2 separate regions of the Homo sapiens genome follow, and region 2 is linked to region 1. Evidence: promoter capture Hi-C in 16 types of primary human blood cells and fetal thymus (Javierre and others, 2016). All regions are on one chromosome and are shown on one strand. Each heading gives the region's core, a stretch centred on a gene start or on the middle of the fragment in contact. The rest is flanking DNA. Distances are from core to core; before and after follow the strand shown.

Region 1 (4,729 bases), core at 649-3,148:
AGAAAAGATAATTGATGGAGCAACGTGGCAGAAAGACACATAATTCAAAGCAGAGTTCTAGCCTTTACAAAAGCAATGCTAGTGGCTTCCCAATTTAGGGGTTTAAGTGCCTGACCTGAACCTCTGTTCTAAACCAGGATAGCTTCATGACTGTTAATAAGGTCCCCTGACTCTAACCCCATGTTTGTATTCAAATATCTACACTTCTTGAATCCCAGATGATCTGGTGGTTTTATAATGCTCTTTAAGAAATATAGGCAGAGTGCATCTAGGTATCATGAACCTCTATTGCTCATTTGAAATCATCTGCTCTTCTGACCCCAGAGCTTCTGCAACTACTTCCTGAATCCATTCAAAGAATTGCCATCTATGAGGTTAAATCCCTAACCCATGTCCAGGGTATATTCCCCTTACATGCAGCAATGGCCCCCCACCAAGGTAGGCCCAGATCAACATGCATAAATTCCAGTAAATTCTGGATCAGTCCCACTGGGGTGTATGACCCCAGCCCCAGTTCAGCGAAGCTCTGCTCTGCAGCAGTTTGGACTACATCTGCAGTCTCTCCAGAAGCCACCTCAGGTACTGCTGTGGGTGAGGGAGTTGCAGCAACAACAGGAGGGGCCTGAACCTGTGTGAAAGAAAGCCTTGTATTATATTTATTCAGTAGCGAACACAAAGCAAGTGAGATCTTTTTATAATAACCAGTACTGGGTTCTGTTCTCTCTACTTCTTGTTCTTCCAGGTTAGCCTAGTGTCTGCAGATTTCAAGCTTAAAAAGGACATCTCATTTTTATCAATAGTTAGGAAGAGAAGTTACTTTGAGTAAGAATCCATGACTTCCCTTCATGCTGGGAAGTTATTTCTTTTATCACTGTTTTCCAAACTTCAGCCATTTGAATATCACTATCATGATTTTTGCCATATATTAACATGAAACAATTGCTTTTCTTTAAAACAGCTCAGAAAACCAAATATAACATCTCTCCTGTTGTACTTTCAATCATTTCCCCACTGAATTGAAAATCCATCCTAAGCAGAGATGCTATCATTTTGGAGAGCTGTGTGGAGCGTGGACAAGAACTCTGCTCCATATTCCCCCTGCTCCCAAACAAAACAAAATATGAAACCAACCAGGAAACACCACTCCTAATATTGCAGGAACGAAAGGCCTCTTACCTGGACTTCTGCAAAAGAGATAGCAGAGGTACTGAGGCTGCGGGGGCCGGAAGCCGCAAGGAAGAGGTAGTGTGGGCGACAGCAGCACGGGGCTGCTGGGAATAGGAGCCGTGTGGTCAGCGGTTTCCCAAGCCATTGCGAGGGCCCTGCGACGCTGTGGACCTGAGCGTGTAAAAGGATGATGGAGCCCCTTTACCGGGAGCAGAAGTCCTCGCGTGGGTGCAAACGGGATTCATTATGCTAACTCCCCAAGAAGCAGGCAGCTCGGCCACTACAGGGGAGGACATTGCTATCACCGCGCGCAGACCGCTAGCCCGAAGGCATGCAGCGGGTGGTGCCTGCAGAGCGAAGCTCGAACCTGGGTTCCCCGCATCTCAGTTATCGCAGACCCACATCGGAGGGCCCTGAGAACGAGGCCGAGGTGCTCTCGCCAGGAGCCAAGCCAATTCCAGAAGCTGACACCGGGCTGCTGGGCCCATAGTGTCGGGGACTAACCCTAGCGCGTCCTCACATGACCCGAGGTCATGACATTCAGGTCCCGGTGAGCAGGTCAGCGTCTGCTGATACCCCTAGCACGAGCTGTCCTGGGGCCTGGTTCACTGGGTCAGGGCAGCATCCCGGTGCTCTGCCCCGGGGCATCCTTACCCGACGCCCGGACTGTAGCAAGCGCAGAAGCTCCCGGCGTCCGCACATTAGTCCCATCGCCATTTTGCCCGGAAGAGGACTTGCTTTTGCGCCTGCGCAGTAAGAACCACAACCCCTCGAGAGGAAGCACTTTTGGAGGCGGGCATGAAGCCAGAATTGTAGCCGCAGATCAGGCGGTAAAAGAGAACGGAGCTTGGCGGCCATATTTGAAGTGGGTAAAAATCTGTAAAGCCACGTTACCATTAGCACGCAGAGAGCCTTTTCTGGAGATTGAAAGGAAGTTGAAGAGCTGGGTTAGCTATCATCGTAAGCTATCATCGTTAGTGATGGCGTAAACCTGGGTAATTTTCCTCTAATGTCGCGATTGTCCTCTGATTTGTAAGTTTAAAAATAGCCTCAGAAAAGGCTTGGCTGTACTTGCAGAGGATTTTTCCCACTCAATGATGTTCGATTCTTTTGATTCTTATTGCTAGGTAATATTGTAATCGCAGGTCCAGTGAAATTTGAGGGTAGTCTAGAGTCTGACAGAAATTAAAAGAAGGCAGCTTCTGGGAAATATTTTCCTCCCAGATAAAAAGACGAAGCTTCCAGAGGAGACTTCACCTTTCCATTTTTTTCTTCTGTAAGTGGGGTGGTGTGAGGACTGACCATGAGGGGACAAGTTTCCAGATGAAAAGCTCACGTGCAGGCCGGGCGCGGTGGCTCAGGTCTGTAATCCCAGTACTTTGGGAGGCCGAGGTGGGTGGATCACGAGATCAGGAGGTCGAGACCATCCTGGCCAACATGGTGAAACCCCATTTCTACTAAAAATACAAAAATTAGCCGGGCGTGGTGGTGGGCGCCTGTAATCCCAGCTACTCGGGAGGCTGAGGCAGGAGAATCACTTGAACCCGGGATGCAGAGGTTGCAGTGAGCCGGGATTGTGCCACTGCACTCCAGCCTGGGCAACAAGAGCGAGACTCCGTCTCAAAAAAAAAAAAAAAAAGGAAAGAAAAACTCACGTGCTGAAGATGGTTGAGGGCAAAGATAGAAAACACCCAAATACTTGATGATATCATTGAGCTGCTGTACCATGCTTGGAACTGCCTATCTCCAGACTTTGTTGTGTAAGTTAATTAAAGGTCTTGGCCGGGTGCAGTGGCTCATACCTGTAATCTCATCACTTTGGGAGGCTGAGGTGGTCTCGATAACTAGGTCAAGAGATCGAGACCAGCCTGGCCAACATGGTGAAATCCTGTCTCTACTAAAAATACAAAAAACAAAAAAACAAAATAACTAGGCGGGCGTGGTGGTGCATACCTGTAGTCCCAGCTACTAGGGAGGCTGAGGCAGGAGAATCGCTTGAATCCGGGAGGTGGAGGTTGCAGTGAGCCGAGGTGGAGCCACCTCACTCTAGCCTGGGCGACAGACTCCATCTCAAAAAAAAAAAAAAAAAGATGATTAAAGGTCTTTACTGTTTAGACTCTAAGTCTGTTGCTTGGGTGTTCTGTTTCTTGAAGTTAAAAGCATTCATCTTCAGGGAAAAAAGTTACTGGTCAGAAAGGTGGAGTTTGATTATGTTTGAACCCTTACAAAGTCTCTCAATATGCAGATTACTTTCTAAACAACAAATTATAGTTTCAGAAAGATACAATAACCTGAAATTATTTCAGTGACTGCTCATTTGGAACGATTATGAATGTACCTGACAGATATGGCGAAAATAGGAGGCAAAGAACTATAATACTGATTTAGTAATAATTAGTGGTATGAGCTAACACTTGCATATGTTGGATGCTATTATAAACATCAATAGATTTTTGATATGGAAACACTGATTTTTTTTTAGAGATTACTTTTAAAACTCAATACAATTAGAAGTAATTACAAATATACAGCTACAGAACACTTGGCAGGGTGACTATCTTACAGTACACTGCTACTTTGGTGGCCCCAAATGAACCAGGCTTCCCAATATTTGCACCTTTAGGAGTTCTCTTCTCTTGAGTCTGATTGGGCCTGTCACTTGCTTTAATCAATAGTAGAATGCGTTGGAAGTGATGTTATGCCAGTTTGGGACTATGCCTTAAGAAGGCCTGATAGCTTCTGTTTTTGCATTCGGGGGAAGCCAGCTGCTGTGTTAGAAGTTTGACTTCTCAGACTTACTGCCTGTGAAAAGCCCAACCAACCATGTGAAGAAGAACTGAGGTTTGGGCCAACAGCCTCAGTTGAACTCCCAGCCAGCAGTCAACACCAACTTTTGCCAGCCACGTGAAGAAGGCCATTTAAAAAGTGGATTCTCCAGCCCACTGGAGCCACCTCAGGTGACTGCGTGTGGAGCAAAGAAAGGCTATTTGAGCCCACATTGCAAAATTACAAGCAAATAAATAAAATTATTGTAGTTTTAAGCCACTAAGTTGTTTAATAATAGATAGCTAAAATGTACAGGCAAACTTGGAAGATACTGTGGGTTGGGTTCCAGACCACTACAATAAAGCCAATATCATAATAAAGTGAGTCACAGGGATTTTTTTGTTTTGCAGTGCATATAAAAGTTATGTTGGGCCGGCATGGTGGCTCAGGCCTGTAATCTCAGCACTTTGGGAGGCTGAGGCAGGTGGATCGCTTGAGCTCAGGAGTTTGAGACCAACCTTGGTAACATGGTAAGACCCCATCTCTTAAAAAAAAAAATACTAGGCCGGGTGTGGTGGCTCATGCCTGTAATCCTAGCACTTTGGGAGGCCGAGGTGGGTGGATCACTTGAGGTCAGGAGTTTGAGACCAGCCTGGCCAACATGGTGAAACCCGTCTCTATTAAAAATACAAAAATTAGCCAAGCGTGGTGGTGGGCACCTGTAATCCCAGCTACTTGGGAGGTTGAAACAGGAGAATTGCTTGAACCTGGGAGGTGGAGGTTGCAGTGAGCCGAG
Region 2 (4,729 bases), core at 1,402-3,901, 370 kb after region 1:
GATGTTTGGCTTTTATTTCTTATTCAATCAGTGATCAAATGGGCACAGACAAAGTAGTTGGGTGCTTATTCACACGAACAGCTTTATAAATAAGAGGAGTGGGCAACTATGTAATGATTTTTGAGGGTCCCGAGAAGACCACTGCCCCCAAATCTCCTCTATTGGTACCTGGCATTCTGCCACTGGAGATTAAGCCTTTGGACCATAGAAACATAAAAGCATTCCTGGAAGGATTGACACCTTAAGCCTTAATGGACAAATGAGTAAGGACTGATTTCTAATGGTAAGACCTTGGGGCTTGGGAACTAGGGAATCTTCCAGTACATAGCCAGGATGTCGGGAAGAGACAATCTCTCCCTTTTCTTTCATTCCCACATATCATTTATCTATTTTTGAGGTGTTTCTTAAATCTGTTTTCTCTTTCCAAGTCCTTCTGATCCTTCTCAATGTCTACCTCAGTTTCATATTAACTTTACATCTGATCTCATTGTTTCCGGTCTTGGAACCAGTCTTCCCACCCATAGTAATCTTTCCAAGCACTCTTTGAAGCACATTTCCTCTTATATGCCTGTGATTTCTGCCCATTTCCCATATAACAGAATCTAGTCCCTTAATGTGATTCACAAAAGCTTTCTCAGTCAAGCCACAGCCCACCACTCCCACCACTCCACTGCCCCAACTCAGGCAGACTCAACTCTCACCAAGTGATCACTGTTCCCCAAGCACAGTTCTATATCCCTCCTGGACATTGCTCAAGCTGTACTCCCTCTGCCCGCCATGTCCTTCTCCAATCCCTCATTTGTCAAAATCATTCATCCTTTAAGTCACTTTAACTAAAACTTCCATGGGGAGGATTTCCTAGTCCTCCTGAACCAAGCTAATTTCCCCTCCTTTGGGCAACTGTGCATTGTACTCTGACCAACATTTGTCACGGTCTGACTTCAGAAATTCATGACATAAAAGTCTATATATGTCTCCCATTGGAAACCACATACTCCTCCCATTCTCTCACTGGCTTTGTGAAGGTCCATTTCTAAAAGATAGGTTTCTTAGGGAATTGATTTTCAAGAGGCTGCCAGGGTGCTCTATCCAAGACACAGATGATTCTTAGAAGTCTCATCTGAATCCTGTAGGCAAACTGCTGGACTTTGAACAGAACTTGAAAGAAAGTTTTCTGGTTGGATAATTTCTGGTGAATGACCTGAAAGCCCTGGCTCCCACACCAGAAATAGTTGGGATTCACAGTCCTTATTGGAGTCCTCAGTGTTCAACAAAGTAGCGTAATGTGATCATTTCCCCAGGGATAACCCAATGGGTGCAGTTTGGAAGGACTAACCAAGATTCCATGCTCTGCCACAGCAGCATAAACAGGGCTGCTTAGTTTTGGAATTATAAGAAAGGACTATGGTCTCAAGGGAAGCAATCTCAGACACTTCTTGCCCGGGCAAAAGTTAGTGTCAGTAGGAACTGGGAAAGATTCTGGGCTTTTTGGAATCCCAAGACAGGAGGGTCTGTGGCCTGCCATCAGTGTTAAACCTGGACATCAGGCCTGGCATCAGGCCTTAGGTATTATCCACTCACCGAGCCTTGGACCTGGAAATCACAGCCCTGATGCAGGTCTGTATTTGAATGCAGGGAGCTGACCCTGGACACTTCCTGCCTATGGAGTCTTATGTATTGACTGCCAATCTCCTCTCTTAGGGAAATTTCTGTACATTGTTTTTTGCGGGTATAGAACAGAGATTTTGCCCTAGAAACCCATCCCTTACTCACACCAAAGGCATCCTGAGCAAGACATACTAATAGGACATGCTTCACCTATGATCAACTCACCTCCCATTGGGCAGTGACAGAAAAATGTTATTTTAGAATGATTTTTTTCAATCTCTGTTTGCACTCAGGAAAGGTGTCAAAGGACACCTTTTTTTTTTAACAGCATTTTTATGAGAAGGATGAGGCCCATATACTCTGGGGACCTAGGTTTGAACTGTAGGGAGAGATTTGTTAGAAATTTTAATAATAGGGATAACTTATAAAAGCAGGATTTCCTTTTTTCTTTCTTTCTTTTTCCTTTGGCAGAGCTGCTCCTTGAAGATTGCTGACAGCATTGAATTTCTGTAGGTAAAGACCCTAGATGAACTTTGAGCACTCTTCTTCTGTTGAGAAAACTAGTTGAGAATGAGGTTATTCTCATTTCAAATAAACACTCACTCATTGTATTGGAGATTATGAAGTTATCATAAAACTGAAAACAGGTGTCGTGCATCAAAATAGTAAGTGTTCTGTTAGGAAAATTAAATGGTGTCTGTTTAGTTAGAATGAGGGGCATATTTTTCCCAAGTGTGAATTTAGTTAGGGCTGTTGATGTCACACACATAGTGTTAGAAGATCTAATAAGACAGTTGAGCACCAGGTTTGCTTTGTCGGGGTCATGAAGGTCGGGCCCCGTCTGAGAAGGTGGAGGGGCAGGTAGAGCGCTTCCCTGGAGGAAATGTTTTTTCTCACTGTCAATCATCCCAGGGCAGGAAAAGAACTAGTCTTGGACTGAGAAGAAAAAATCTCCTCTGCTCTCTGCACTTGGAGATATGGAGATGCCTGCAGACTTCTACCGGGCGCCTTGAGCTGGTCTTTGCTATGCGTAAGCCTGCCTGGAGGTAGAAAGAGTCTCAAGTTGGGTTTTGGGTCTCAAAATGTGCTCTTCTTTCTTCCTCAAACATTTAGCAGTGCTTTGAATGATTAAGAGAGTAGACCATGTCCACCTGACATGGGATCCATTGTGGTGAAGGTAGAGGGGAGAGCAGCCTGGAGAAAAGTCTCACAAGATGATGAAAGATGGCCTGAAGAAGAGCTCTGGCTCCATGGAACTGTCAAGCCCCGTGGGGACCCACTGTGGCACATGAAATGCCCACAAATCACTTGGGGACATCACGGATACTCAATATTCCACATGATGAGCCCGCAGGTTCTTGTAAATTGAATATTAATGAAATAGTGTCTGTATTTTGTAATCCACAGGCTGGTGAGGTCTGAGGACACATGGATGACACAATGAAGGACTTCCTAAAAATAAGAGACCTGAAACTCTTGAAGTGGTGTTTGAAATAACATTTGTACAATGACAACCACTGATTTAATTAACCACCTGACCATCCTTAGTTGTCTTTAAGACTAAGAATGCTCAGCAACTGATTAATGATTTAAACTTTGGGTGTCATAAGAGCTAGAAAACAACAACAAATCTGAAAATGGCCAGTTCCATTTTATACATATGTATCCATACACGCATTCATCCATTTATTCATCCAGCAAGTATTTGTTGCCAAACACTGTGCTTGCTACAGGAATGCAGACCTTACTAAGACATTACCCTCCAGGGGCTTACATCTGAGTGAGTGAAGACAGGTAGGAATCTGCATCCCCTAGTCAGAGACACAGATTGTTTCTGGTTAATGACACAGTTAGGCAAGCACCCCGCTCAGTTTCTTTCCCAGGGGATTGTGTCACCCATGAAACCAGATGTGCTTTTCCGTGAGCTACCTTTTATTCCTATGATCCCGTGTGGGGGAGATGCTGTAATAGACCTAGCTGTTCTGCTAGCCTATGGGCGCTCCACTGGTCCTTGGTTTTGGCTTCCAACCAGAGGCTGCTTCCTGAAATGACAGGCAAGGTTGAGACAAAGATGGAGCGGAGCACCTAGAGTGCTTTGGCTGGTCCAGCATTGCCCTCCAGTGTTCAAATGCAGGAAAGTGGGAAACAATGAATTCTTAGCATGAAGTCCTGAGATGGCTGTCTGTGGATTAATGAGGGGGTTCCGGGTGGCTCCCCCAGATGAGGGGTGGGAAAACAGAAATTGGGAGCCAGAGTTGAGAAATAAAAGTGAGGATTAAGATTCATTAATGACAGGGCACCTTGAGAGATAGGCATAGAGAGAAATAGAAACAAAGACCCTGTCAGTTTCCTAACTTGGATTTTGTCAGGAGAAACAGCAATTGTCCAGCAAGATGACCAGGCTCCCCTGGAGATTAGAAAGCATGGTGGTGGCAGTGGAGGACTGGTTGCCTAGAGCTGTATATCCAGTCTTCTCAGTCCACCCTTTTCAAGGTTCTAGGGAGACTTTGATCTAGAATTATTACCTCCAGGTTCAGGGGCAGTCCAGGAAAGAGCACAAATCTCCTGAAATAAAATTGGAGGGAAACATTTGTGCATAACAAACCTTTTTCATTAGATTTGCAAAGAGATCTAGGTCATAAGAAGGTAAGTCTGCATTTTTCCTGGGACTTAAATGTTTTCAGTCTCCTGTCTTACATCTAGGTAGTTCATTAACTCAGCCTTGGAGGGAGGTTTTCTTAACCTCAGGGAGTTCCCCCAGTTGGGTCAATGTCACTGAGATGTCCAGCACAGCAGGACGCTGTCTTGCCTCCCAGATCATGGATCTATATGAGTCAAGGCTGAAGTAGCCTTGGCAGCCAATCTGCTCTTGGCAAAACCTGAAACTAGTACAATGTTTGCGTCTTTCGTTTTGTTTCACCTTTGCACACCTAGATCACCTAGATCACCACTTATCTTATGGTGTCATGGAAACAATGGAGCTTCAGCCCCACCCCAAATCTTCCCCTGCTTTATTTCTTCTAGTTGACCTATGACTTGACTTACTGAACCTTCATCAAGCTTGAAATCCTCTCTGTTCCTGCCCCTGTTGCTCTCCTACCTTGTTCCTCTGCAAAGATAG

Evidence for each region. Contacts are between HindIII fragments. The CHiCAGO score rates a contact against its expected background, and 5 or more counts as called.
Region 2: a contact is called between a fragment that was not itself captured here and the fragment with the promoter of OXA1L in region 1, in 3 of 17 cell types (endothelial precursors, total B cells and naive B cells). The highest score is 8.1, in endothelial precursors.

The regions. Positions count from the first base shown.
Region 1 is chr14:22,763,857-22,768,585 of GRCh38, reverse strand. OXA1L (OXA1L mitochondrial inner membrane insertase) reads right to left here and starts at 1,898. Exons shown (of 10, transcript NM_005015.5): 1 at 1,822-1,898; 2 at 1,177-1,338; 3 at 415-628. The coding sequence starts at 1,884. OXA1L-DT (OXA1L divergent transcript) reads left to right here and starts at 2,024. Exons shown (of 3, transcript XR_001750638.3): 1 at 2,024-2,162. RefSeq lists enhancers at 1,790-2,019, 1,613-2,176, 2,177-2,739, 2,740-3,303. The HindIII fragment of the contact is 1,636 bases long and covers 772-2,407 here.
Region 2 is chr14:22,391,023-22,395,751 of GRCh38, reverse strand. All of the region lies in intron 2 of TRD-AS1 (TRD antisense RNA 1), which reads left to right. It also overlaps TRA. Among named protein-coding and RNA genes, the nearest start is that of TRD-AS1, 90 kb to the left of the region's middle. The HindIII fragment of the contact is 4,039 bases long and covers 632-4,670 here.